3 separate regions of the Homo sapiens genome follow, and all the other regions are linked to region 1. The links are contacts of gene promoters, found by promoter capture Hi-C in blood cells and fetal thymus (Javierre and others, 2016). All regions are on one chromosome and are shown on one strand. Each heading gives the region's core, a stretch centred on a gene start or on the middle of the fragment in contact. The rest is flanking DNA. Distances are from core to core; before and after follow the strand shown.

Region 1 (4,466 bases), core at 98-2,597:
AGGATGAGCCCCCTCCACAGATCTGCCCAGGGGAGAAAACTATGCCGCTTCAATCAATGTGCCAGTCTACAGGGCTCCGGAAGGAGTCAGATCCCCACACCTATCACCTCCCAGATGGTCCCTTCCAGGTGTCTGTGTGCGTGTGTGTGTGGTGGCAGGGGGGCTGGGGGTGTTTCAAAAATCCTGAAATATATAAAAGCTTTAAGACCACCAACAGGGAAGTAGACATATCCCCAATTTTATTCCCTTTGTCCAACATTCCGAGAGGGAAGGGGCAAATGAGTCAATGTTGCCCCTCAAAACCATCAAGTAGGGGCCTTTGGGGGTCTTCAGTTGATCAACCAGGGTGATAGACCCCTACCCCTTCCTCATGGTCCTGGCTTGTCACAATTAATGGGGGAAAGTTTTCCAGAAGGGGATTCCGGGCTTCTCACCGCTCATCAGGGCACCTTCCCAAAACGTTCTCAGCAAAAAGTCTGCACTTCTCAGAGTTAAATACAGGAGAGGGGAGACTCCTTGAGGAGCCAGAAGTGGGTATGTTCTCAGGGGTCAAGAGAAGGGCGTCTCAGGCTCTCCCTGTCCACCGGGGGTCGTCCTGGCTCCCCGTACCTTCGGGCAAGTAGCTCTTGGCTTGACACTGTCCAGCCCGCCAGCGTCCCAGGCCGCCCCAAGCCCTCATGGGGGAGGAGCACCGACCTGTCTCCAAGCATCGGAAAAGGCGGGCCTCCCTTGCCGTCCATCACGGGGCTCTCTAGGCCCCCTGCGTCGCCAAGGAGGAGTCTCTGACATCCCCAATTCGTCAAGCTAGTCTCTTAAGACCTCTCACCTTAGGCGGGTTCCCCAGTCCCCCCATGCAGTCAGGCGAGCCTCCTGGCTCCACCACGCCATCGAGCGAGTTCGGCTCTTCGCCTGTCACCGTCCGTCGGGGCGGGTCTCCGGTGCCCCCGTGCTGTCGTGGGGGTTCCTTGGACTGTCGCCGTCGTCAGGCTGGCAACCCACGCCGCCAGGCTCCCCGGTCGGGGCCCGCGGGCGTACGAAGGCGCCCATGGCGGTGGCGTGGCCCGAGCGTAGCAGCTGCAGCTGGCGCCGCCCGCGGCGGTACAGGTACTCGATGCGCAGCACGTCGGACCGCGGCAGGCCCGCATGCTGCCGGAACTCTGCCCGCACTCGCGCCTCGGCGCCCGGCTTCCCACGCCCGGCGCGCAGCAGATCGCGGTACAGGCTCAGAACCTGCCTCTGCAGCCGGCTGTGCCGGCTCATGACCGCGGCTAAGCAGAGACGCTCAGCGAACGACCTGCGAACCGCGGAGCCGCCACACAGCCAGCAAAGGCCAAAGGGCAAAGCCACAGCCACTTCCGCCCAGCGCTTCCCTTGGCCTCCAACTCCCGCCTCCCGCCATCCGGCGCTGCCGCGTCTGACTGGCTGTCGTTGCAGTTACGTAACAGCCGGCTGGGAGAAGTGGGCGGAGTCGCTGGTCGCGGCCTCCCACGTAGGGGACGTGTGTTCTTGAGGGGACAGCAGTTCTGGGGATCCTGGCACCGCCTGGAGGGCGTTATGTGTTCGGACTCCTAGGTCTTGGGTTGGAGGGAACAGAGGGTCCTCACCTAACTCCTGCATTCTGGGAGAAGAGGAAGCTAGGGGTTTTTTTGTGTGTGACGGGGTCTCGCTGTCGCCCAGGCTGGAGTGCAGTGGCGCGATCTTGGCTCACTGCAGCCTCGAACTCCTGGGCCCAAGCGATCCTCCCACCTCAACTCCCCTAGTAGCTGGAACCACAGACGCGCGCAACCGCGCCCGCTATTTATTTATTTATTTATTTATTTATTTATTTATTTATTATTATTATTATTTGCAGAGATGGGTCTCCCTATGTTGCCCAGAATGGCTCGAACTCCTGGGCTCAAACGATTCTCAGCCTCCCAAAGTGTTGGGATTCCAGGCGTGAGCCACCGCGCCCGGCTACCGGTTCGGACTTTGGGTCCCAAGGGCACGGGGCACTGGGAGAGACGCCGGGCACAAGCGTGCTTTTGCCGTCAGTTACTGATTCAAACCATCTTGGGAAGCTCCGTGCGTTCCCTCGTCCGGGGCAGGTCTGTGTCTGGGGTCCCAGCCCTGGGCACGTGCAGAGGGACGAGACCCCGTAGGGAAATGGCTCTCGGCCGGTTGGACAGGCTTCTCGGGCCAGGGGAAGACAAGCAGAGAGAGTGTGGGCGCCAAGCCCCCAGAGGCAGCGTGTGGCTCTAGGAGCTGGGTTGGTCGCGCCCTCTGCGGGTGGGAGTCGGGGCAGTGGACAGCGGTGTTTGGGTCCTTACCGACTGTTAAAGCCCGGAGTCCGGGACACCCTGAACAGTCGACTAGACTGCAACCCCGTTGTCCTCCCAGGAGCTTTAGGTGGTAGGCCGCAATGCCGTTGTTGTCCCCGCGGGCCGCCTGGAGGTGTCCTCGTAGCGCTAGGGAGGCCCGCAAGGACACAGCATCCTCGGGCCCCACCAGCACCGGAGCTTGGGGGACCCCTCCACCCAGCGCGCAACCGCGGCTCTGCACACTTGGGCCGGCAACCAGCTGGGGGGTCCATTCCCCTTCAGAGAGGAGAAGCTGGTCAGGGGCGGGGATTAGGCTTGGAGTCTTGGAGTCAGGGGAGAATCACAAACCACTGTGAATCCTGCCTGGCAGGTGTATGTATCTATCAAAAATACATGTCCTAGAACGGTGGCTCACACCTGTAATTCCAGCACTTTTGGAGGCCGAGGCGGGCGGACCACCTGAGGTCGGGAGATCGACACCAGCCTGATCCACATGGTGAAACTTCTGCCTCTAGGTTCAAGTGATTCTCCCTACCTCAGCCTCCCCAGTAGCTGGAATTACAGGTATGTGCCAGCACACTGGGCTAATTTTTGTATTTTTAGTAGAGGCGGGGTTTCACCATATTGGTGAAACTACAGCCTTGATCTCCTGGGATCAAGCAATCCTCTCGCCTCAACATGTCCAGTGGTTAGGATTACGTGAACATCCCACCACACCCGGCTAATTCTTCTTTTATTGTTTTTTGTAGAGACAGAGTCTCGCTGTGTTGCCCAGGCTTCACTCTGGAATTTTAAATATTTATTTTTTGTTTTGTTTTTAGAGACAGGGTCTTGCTATGTGGCCCAGATTGGTCTTGAACTCCGGCCTCATCCTCCCAAGTAGCTGGGATAATAGGGATGAGCCACCATGCTGGCTTGTACTCTGGAATTTAAACATCTATCTTTTTCCTGTCAAATGACCCTTAATCTCCAAGACAACTATGTCAATCAGCCTAGGGGGACTTTCTTTACTTTCCAGTGGACTCAAGGAGCTGCAAAACCTCAAAGGGAATACTATTGCCTCCTGCCCAGGGCCTGTCAATGGTTTTCTGGTTACAGTCTCTCAGTTTGTCTTTGGGGAACTGGCCCACTCTTATTCTAGGGGATTTCCTGGGTAATATCCCTGCCCTCTGGCTCTGGCTACAGCTCTGTTACATGCCCAGGCCTGGCTACTTAGAGACAAATCAGAATATCCCATCCCCTGACCCCTGTAATTGTTTAGGGATGGGCAAATGACCTCCACTGGGACAATGAGAATCAGACCCGGGACTTCTGTTGAAACTGTGAAGAAAGAAGTGCTGTCTCCCCACTGGGACTGCTAGACTGTACATCATCAACCTGGAGCAGTGGGAGATCACTTCCCGCAGGCAGAGGGGTAGTTTGAAAATGAGGCTGTGGCAGTCTCAGATACCCATTCTCCATTTCTTTCCTAGAATTAGCATTTTTTTTTTTGATATGGAATCTCGCTCTGTCACCCAGGCTGGAGTGCAGTGGCGTGATCTCCATTCACTGCAACCTCTGCCTCCCGGGTTCAAGCGATTCTCCTGCCTCGGCCTTCTGAGTAGCTGGGACTACAGGGATGCGCCACCACATCCGGCTAATTTTTGTATTTTTAGTAGAGACGAGTTTTCGCCATATTGGCCAGGCTAGTCTAGAACTCCTGACCTCAAGTGATCCGCCTGCTTCGGCCTCCCAAAGTACTGGGATTACAGGTGTGAGCCACCATGCCTGGCCTTTTTTCTTTGTCTTTTCCTTTTTTTTTTTTTTTTTTGAGATAGGGTCTTGCTCTGTTGCCCAGGCTGGAGTGCAGGGGCATGCTTGTGACTCACTGAAGCCTCAAATTCCCAGGATCAAGTGATCTTCCCACCTCAGTGGCCTAGAACTATAGGCGCTCACCACCATGCCTGGCTAATTTTTGTATTTCTTATAAAAACAAGGTTTCACCATGTTGCCCAGGTTGTTCTCAAATTCCTAGGCTCAAGTGATCCTCCCACCTCGGCTTCCCAGAGTGCTGGAATTACAGGCATGAGCCACCGCACTTGGCCAAATTAGAATCTTTAGCTGCACACATGGCCACTTAGCTAAAGATACATCTTCCAGCCCCCTTTGCAGCCAGATGGGGCCCTT
Region 2 (4,293 bases), core at 605-3,104, 1.0 Mb after region 1:
ATAGTGAACAGAAATTTATTTAGCTCATGGTTCTGGAGGCTGAAAAGTCCAATACCGAGTGGGTGGCATCTGGTTGGCTTCGGGGGAGGGGCTAGTGCTGCATCATAACATGATGGAAAAGCAGAAGAGAAGCAGGTGTGTGTCAAAGGGGCAAAACTTAAGGGGAACCTCACTTTATAACAGCCTGCCCTTGCAATAACCAATCCAGTCCCAAAAGAGTGAGAACTCACTGCCTCCAGAATTAACCCAGTCTCGAGAGAATGGCATCAGTCTCTCTTAATGACCAAATCACCTCTTAAAAGTCCCGTCACCCAACACCACCACACTGGGGACCAAAGTGGGAGGATCTCTTAAGACCAGGAGTTTGAGATCAGCCTGGGCAACATAGTGAAACCCTATCTCTATTAAAAAATTAACAGGGCATGGTGGTACAAGTGGTACAAGCCTGCAGTCCTAGCTACTTGGGAGGCTGAGGCAGGAGGATTGCTTGAGCCCCGGAGTTTGAGGCTGCAGTGGGCTATGATAGTGCCACTGCACTCCAGCCTGAGTGACAGAGCGAGAATTTGTCTCTTTTTTTTTTTTTTTTTTTGAGATGGAGTCTCTCTGTGACGCCCAGGCTGGAGTGCAGTGGCTCAATCTCGGCTCACTGCAAGCTCCGCCTCCCGGGTTCACGCCATTCTCCTGCCTCAGCCTTCCGAGTAGCTGGGACCACAGGTGCCCACCACCACGCCTGGCTAATTTTTTGTATTTTTAGTAGAGAAGGGGTTTCACCGCGTTAGCCAGGATGGTCTCGATCTCCTGACCTTGTGATCCGCCCGCCTCGGCCTCCCAAAGTGCTGGGATTACAGGCATGAGCCACCGTGCCCAGCCGCTGAGAATTTGTCTCTAAAAAACAATGACAAACTAAAAGGAAAACTTCTGGAAAGCAGAATAAAAGACAAAAGTGGATAATAAGAGACAATATAAGAAAATTAGAGGATAAATTCAGAAATTCCAAAAAAGAGAAAACAGAAACTCCAGTAGTGAAGAAAGTATTAAAGAAATGTCCCCATAACTGAAAGAAATTTGAAGAGCCTGCAGAGTGCTCCACAATTGTTAAAATATGGTAATAATATTTCAGAACATCAGTTCTAGAGGTTTCCAGAGAGAGAAAAAAAAAAAGCCAAACAGATCACAGTCAAAGGATCACAGGTGGGAGGACATTGGACACTCTGGGGAAAAACTGCTGTTTAACCTGGACTTCTATCAAATTATCACTCAAGTGGAAACAGGGTTAGACATTTTCAGACAAACAAAGTCTCAAAAAGTTTCCTCCCAAACAGTCTTTCTCAGGAAGCTCCTGGAAGATATTTTCACCCTAAACAAGGGAGTAAACCAGGAAAGAGAAAATGGAGGACCAACATGACTAGATGGTGAAGTGAAGTCCCAGCAGGAGAATCATGCAGCTGGCTTGAAGAAAGTATAGATTGGAGCAGAAGGACAGAGATTGGAGTTTAAATTATTCAAAGCAGAGAAAAGGACAAATCTCAACTACAGTTGTAAAGAAAAGCAAAAAGTTTGCATGAGAAAGAAATGTAAGGACAGCGCACGACATAGCTCATCTCTAACATTTTCCTGATCTCCATAACATAATCAGTGAACTTAATAAAAATCATGACATGACAATTCTGGGAGGATTGAAGGGGGGGGAAGGAAATATGTGTGTGGGAGAGGAGTGAAAAGAGCGAATTCATCATCTTCTAGTAAAAAGTAAGTTGATAATATATAACATTCAAATTCAAGACTGTATATAAACCTGCTATTTATAAACGTGGAGCCGGGCACAGTGGCTCATGCCTGCAATTCCAGCACTTTGGGAGGCTGAGATGGGCGGATCACTTGAGGTCAGGAGTTCGAGACCAGCCTGGCCAACACGGTGAAACCCTGTCTCTACTAAAAATACAAAAATTAGCCTGGTGTGGCGGTGCATGCCTGTAATCCCAGTTACTTGAGAGGCTGAGGCTGGAGAATTGCTTGAACCCGGGCGGCAGAGGTTGCAGTGAGCGGAGATGGCACTGCTGCACTACAGCCTGGGCAACAGAGTGAAATTCCAACTCAAAAAAAAAAAAAAAAGGAGATGAAAATAGAACTATGCACTAAAAGAGAGAGTGGCTAATTCTGGAGAGGGGGATGGGGTGGGACGGCATGGAGTAGAGAAGAGAGCTGCTGGGTTTAGAAATCTTGTTGAATTCTTTGACTTTTGCTATTGTGCATTTATATGACTGATTAGAATTAAAATTTTAAAAGTTTGCAACTGGTAGAGCCAAGAATTTTGAGTTTAAGAATCCCAAACTGATGGAAATACTTATAATACACACAAAAATTTTTGTTTACGGATGGCCTAGGCAGTATAGTTTGCAATGAGGACAAAGAAAAAAAATGCGTTGTGTTTGATATTTACAGGATATTATTAATGGGACATTATAATTAATTGTTTTATTTTCCCCACTGCTGACATGCCTGTGTGAATTTGCTAAGCTAGTGGTTTGATGACTTATTTGTAATGCACTTTTAGAGCATCGTAAACACCTAATAAACACATGTGGAATACAGGTGTTTCAAAACGATAAGTAACAAAAAAGAGACACATTTTATTGTATATAAACTATCCTTCAATAATACTGATTAAAATGCAAAAGAGATATTAGAATATGCAAATTATTCAGCAACATAAAGCAATAATAGAAGAGCCAAAAGACGAAAATGATTGATTATGGGATGTGGATGCAAGGTAGAGGACAGTTATTTATTTATATGTCTTTTATTGTTTGTTTGTTTATTTATTTATTTTTTGTGACAGGGTCTTGCTCTGTCACCCAGGCTGGAGTGCAATGATGCCATCCCAGCTCACTGCAGCCTTGGTCTTCCATGCCCAAGCCATCCTCCCACCCCAGCCTCTTGAGTAGCTGGGACTACAGGCACATGCCACCATGCCTGGCTAATTTTTGTATTGTTTGTAGGCATGGAGTCTCACCATCTTGCCCAGGCTGGTCTCAAAACCCTGGGTTCATTCCGTCTGCCTGCCGGTCTCCCAAAGTGCTGGAATTACAGATGGGAGCCACTGGACCCAGCCATGTCTTTTAATGCTGCATGATATTTAAATGTTAAATATGTATATTTTAGCACTACTTCATATATACTCATTACATAAGGTAAGTACAGTTATAAAGTAAATAAAGGCTGGGCGCAGTGGCTCATGCTGTAATCCTAGCACTTTGGGAGGCTGGTCAGGAGATCAAGACCAGCCTGGCCAACATGGGGAAACCCCATCTCTACTAAAAATACAAAAATTAGCTGGGCAGGGTGGCACATGCCTAGCTACTCGGGTGGCTGAGGCAGGAGAATCACTTGAACCTGGGAGGCGGAGCTTGCAATGAGCCGAGATGGCGCCACTGCACTCCAGCCTGGGCAACAGAGTGAGACTTCATCTCAAAAAAAAAAAAAGTAAATACGGCACATAGATGTGTTATGCATAATATATATATGTATGTATGTATGTATGTATGTACGCTGGGTCTAGAATTTGAAAGGCACCTGAAAATATAATGCTTAATTTTTCAAACACTTATTTTGTGATTAGAACGAAGACAATGCATAGTGGATGACGTTACTGCCTTTCTATTCTATCACTATCTATGCACCATGTCCAAAAGGTCATGAACTGCCACTGGGTGAAGGCAGATCTCGGAGTCTGTTTGTTATATGCAGGGACTCAATGACACTCACTGGCTGCAGTACACCCGTGAGGTAGGAGGTGGGCTCAACTCCAGAGGTGAGGCTCAGACACCTGACCAAACTGAGAACTAGCTAAAACAGGGACGGGAGGGAAGCAGTTTTCCATAAGACACACCCACCAGTGCGCCATGTCAGTTTACCATTGCCATGGCAACACCGGAGAGTCACCACCCCTTTCCATGGCAATGATATAATGACCCCAAAGCTACTACCCCTTCCCTAGAAATGTCTGCATAAACTGCCCCTTAATCTACGTGCAATTAAATGTGAGCATAAATCTGACTGCAGAACTGCTCTGAGCTGCTGCTGTCTGCCTACGGGACCGGGTAGTCCTGCTCTGCAGGAGCAGTCATGGAGCTGTAACACGGCTTCTTCAATGAGCCTCTTTTCTTCTACCCTACCACTGGCCCATACTGCTCACCCTTGAATTCTTTCTTGAGCAAAGCCAAGAACCCTCACATGCTAAGCCCCAGTTTGGGGGTCACCTGTCCTGAATCAAGTTGGGAGAACTTGAAGATT
Region 3 (4,068 bases), core at 781-3,280, 1.0 Mb after region 1:
TCTCCCAAAGTTAGTTAGGCCTATGCTCAGGAACGAACAAGGACAGCTTGGAGGTTAGAAGCAAGATGGAGTTGGTTAGGTCAGATCTCTCACTGTCATAATTTTCTCAGTTATAATTTTTACAAAGGTGGTTTCACCATATGACATGTAGTATCGGGGGAACCCACCCCCGATAATTCAATGTGGGTTCTTTTCTATTTTCCCTAAGTGTCGGCTGGTCTGAGAAATAAAGGGAAAGAGTACAAAAGAGATAAATTTTAAAGCTGGGTGTCTGGGGGAGACATCACATGTCAGCAGGTTCCGTGATGCCCCCGAGCCATAAAACCAGCAAGTTTTTATTGGCAATTTTCAAAGGGGAGGGAGTGTACGAATAGGGTGTGGGTCACAGAGATCACATGCTTTAAGGGCAACAAAAGATCACAAGGCAGAAGGTCAGGGCGAGATCACAAGGTCAGGGCAAAACTAGAATCACTCATGAGCTTCCATGTCCTGCTGTGCACGCATTGTCATTTATAAACATCTTAACAGGGTTCAAGAGCAGAGAACTGGTCTGACTAGAGTTCGCCAGGCTGGAATTTCCTAATCCTAGCAAGCCTGGGGGCGCTGCAGGAGACTAGGGTGTGTTTCATCCCTATCTACATGTGCATAAGGCAGACACTCCCAGGGCAGCCATTTTAGAGGCACTGCCCTGGGAATGCATTATTTTCCCAGGGCTGTTAATTATTAATATTCCTTACTGGGGAAAGAATTCAGCGATATTTCTCTTACCCGTTTTTGGTAATAGGAGAAATATGGCTCTGTCCTGCCCGTCCCACAGGCAGCCAGACTTTAAGGTTATCTCCCTTGTTCCCTGAAAATCGCTGTTATCCTGTTCTTAAGGTGCCCAGATTTCATATTGTTCAAACACACATGCCCTACAAACAATCTGTGCAGTTAACGCAATCATCACAGGGTCCTGAGATGACATACATCCTCAGCTTACGAAGATGACAGGATTAAGAGATTAAAGTAAAGTCAGGCATAGGAAATCACAAGAGTATTGATTGGGGAAGCGATACATGTCCATGAAATCTTCACAATTTATGTTCAGAGATTGCAGTAAAGACAGGCATAAGAAATTATAAAAGTATTAATTTGGGGAACTAATAAATGTCCATGAAATCTTCACAATTAATGTTCTTCTGTCACGGCTTCAGCAGGTCCCTCCGTTCGGGGTCCCTGACTTCCTGCAACAATGTAGTGTTATTTTTCCCATTTTATTTACTGGATTTCAATGAGAGTCCCTGCTGTAAAGTTGGAGCCAGCATTGGAGTCCCCAGAGGGCTTGTTAAAACAGAGAAGGAGGCCTGGCACCATGGCTCACTCCTGCAATTCCCAACACTTTGGGAGGCCGAGGTGAGAGGATCACTTGAGCTCAGGAGTTTGAGACCAGCCTAGGCATCACAGGGAGATCCAGTCTCTACAAAAAATTTTAAAATTAGCTGTGTATGATGGTGCACGCCTGTATCCCATCTACCTGGTAGGCTGAGGCAGGAGGATAGCTTGAGCCCGAGATGGAGGCTGCAGTGAGCTATGATCAGGCCACTGCACTCCAGCCTGGACAACAGAACGAGACCCATCCCCCCCGCCCCCCCCGCAAAAAGTAGAGAAGGCTGAATCCCATCCCCAGAATTTCTGAGTCCTTAGATTTAAGTTGTTGCCCCAGAACCTGCATTTTCAGCCAGTCCCCAGGTGATGCTGATGTTGCTGGTTTGAGAAGCCCTGAATCAGAGCGACATTTAATATTACAACGCAAAGACCCCGCCCATTGGGTACTATCCCCATTTTCCAGTGTGAATTTAGGTCCCTTAGGGGTGAAGCGGCTGGCCGATGCCCACACGCGCAGGAAGAGCACTGGGGCTCTCCTCCTGGACCTCGGAGGGTGGGCGGGGTTTAGCGCGGGCGGCTGCAGGCTCGGGAGCGGCCCCTTTAAGGGGAAGGCCCGAGGGCTGCAGGCGGCGGCGGTGGAGACCCGACGAGATCCGCTCTCCTTCCCGCCCTGGACCCTCAGCCTGACGAGAGGCTGGGCAGAAACTCGCGATCCCCAGGCCCTGCCTGTGCACCAGCGGCTGGCGCCAGGCCAATGACAGTACGGGAGAGGGCAACTCTCCCGGCCGCCACGGTGGGGGCCGGAACTTCCTGCACTGCAGCCTCGCAGGTCATTTCCCGGCGGGGAGGCTGAGTCCCCAGGAGCTGGGGACCCCGAGTTGGGGGCGGGGCGGCTGGGGCTACGCCCGTGAAGCTGCCCCGCCGGCTTTCCCGGACCGCGAGGGGGACAGTGAGGCCGGGACCCCCTCCGCGCCTTTGCACCAGCCGTGACCCCTTGCAACGGGGGTACCCAGCGGAGCTGCGCGCTCTCGGCGCCCCCGGAGCCTGCGCCCCGGGCCCCTTGCGCATTTTGCACGGGGGAGACTGAGGCTAGGAGTGCGACCCTCAGCCCGGGGTCACACCTCGTCTGGGGCACGGCCAGGTGGGTGGTAGCCTCAGCCTGCGAGACCCCCTACCCCCGCCCCGTGGTTTCCCGCACCGTGGGGCCCTGCTCTGACCACAGACTCCGATGGCAGCGGCGGCGCTGCGGGACCCCGCGCAGGTGAGTGCTTGGACGTTAGGCCCTTCGCTGTCGGCCCCCCACGCTTCTGTTCTCGGTGTTGAGACGCAAAAGATGGCTTTGTTCTAGGACTTTTCGCCTTTCCCATTTCCTTGCTTTTGAGTCAGGGGACCCTGGAAGGGAGTTGCTCCCAGCTAGGATCCTGAATCAGGGCAGGGTTTATATAAAGTGGCTTCCGTTGCTGAAATGTAATGGGATGGAGGGAGAAAGGGCTTTGTAGGCACAGGAACCAGCGTGCGCAAAAGCTTGGGGGTGGGGTGGGGCACGGTGTGGAGACTGAGTTGGGAGTGTTCAAGGAACCCCACCCAGGTCAGTGTTATTAATATTATGTCTGCTGGAACCAGAGAGCAGGTGGGCTGAAGACAGCTCAGAACGGCAGAGCTGGGCCTCTGTTCTGAGGGTGTTGGGAGCCATGGAAGGTTTAGGGCAGAGGAGGAAGATGCTGTGACTCAGGTCTTAACAGGCTCCCTGTGGATGCACAGTGGAGAACTGAATATGGAGTGAGCCGCAAGCAGGGATGCCAAGGAGTAGCCTAATGGAATAGCCCAGGCCAGTGCTGCGGCTGGCCGGACCAGAGTGAGGACTGGAGGTAGAGGAAGTGATTGGGAACTTGATGTCTTTTAAGTCAAGCTGACCAAATTTTCCGATGTGGAGGGTGAGAAAGAGGAGGGAAGAATCCATGGTTTTTGGTTTGATGAATCCAGCTTTATGAACTGAGAAGTTGGTTTTAGGAGGAATTTTCCATGGAAGCAGTAGAAGTTAGGTTTTGGCCAAGTTGAGCCTGTGATGTCCCAGAGACCCCCAAATGGAGTTGAAGAGTGGGCCGCTGAACACACAGTTCGGGTGTTCTGAGGGAGTTGTTAAGGTAATGAGAGACTGGATATTCATTCGAACAATGGCCAGATCATGTATACAAATAGAACTCTGCCCCAGAACCTGCCCAGGAAACCAACCCCCTTATCTACAATAAACAACCCATACAGCAGGAAGCCAGCCTGCTGTCTGTCAGACCCACAGGAAGCCAGATTGCTATCTGGACTGACAATCCAGGAAGTAAAAACAATAACTTCTGTAATGAGCAGTCCCAAATGGCCAGGGTTTGATTAATAACAGACAGCTTTCCTCATTTTTGCTCCTGCTTCTGATTTAAGAACAACCAGAGAAAGGCAGATACGCACCCTAACCAATCACATAGGATGCCCACTTCTAGTTCACCCACCTACGAACAGGAGCCTCCAACCAGGGCACGCCTGAAGCCTTCCTTTTCTTTTGCTATAAAACTCTCCCACTCCCGGCTTGCATTGAGTCTCTCTTGCTATAGTGAGCTTTGAGTAAGTAGCCTTGGCTTTTCTCATTTCATTGGTCTTTGTTTATTTCAACAGTTAGAAACATCCAAAATGTGACATCTGGTGTGTGGACGG

Evidence for each region. The method cuts DNA at HindIII sites, captures the fragments that hold promoters and counts their contacts. A CHiCAGO score of 5 or more calls a contact.
Region 2: a fragment that was not itself captured here is called in contact with the fragment with the promoter of SDHAF1 in region 1 in 1 of 17 cell types (neutrophils); the score reaches 5.1 in neutrophils.
Region 3: a contact is called between the fragment with the promoter of ZNF792 here and the fragment with the promoter of SDHAF1 in region 1, in 6 of 17 cell types (activated CD4 T cells, monocytes, total CD4 T cells and 3 more). The highest score is 11.4, in activated CD4 T cells.

What each region holds. Positions count from the first base shown.
Region 1 is chr19:35,992,069-35,996,534 of GRCh38, reverse strand. SDHAF1 (succinate dehydrogenase complex assembly factor 1) reads right to left here and starts at 1,347. Exons shown (of 1, transcript NM_001042631.3): 1 at 223-1,347. The coding sequence starts at 1,260. The coding sequence ends at 913. RefSeq lists silencers at 891-1,010, 1,041-1,100 and enhancers at 1,161-1,240, 1,501-1,550, 1,885-2,384. The HindIII fragment of the contact is 4,511 bases long and covers 202-4,466 here.
Region 2 is chr19:34,979,846-34,984,138 of GRCh38, reverse strand. No RefSeq gene overlaps it. Among named protein-coding and RNA genes, the nearest start is that of ZNF792, 18 kb to the right of the region's middle. The HindIII fragment of the contact is 6,510 bases long and covers 1-4,293 here.
Region 3 is chr19:34,962,191-34,966,258 of GRCh38, reverse strand. It overlaps ZNF792 (zinc finger protein 792), which reads left to right and starts at 2,030. Exons shown (of 4, transcript NM_175872.5): 1 at 2,030-2,629. The coding sequence starts at 2,597. It overlaps LOC124904699 (a long non-coding RNA gene), which reads right to left and starts at 2,833. Exons shown (of 2, transcript XR_007067236.1): 1 at 2,586-2,833. RefSeq lists silencers at 2,269-2,528, 2,639-2,688. The HindIII fragment of the contact is 6,406 bases long and covers 1-2,894 here.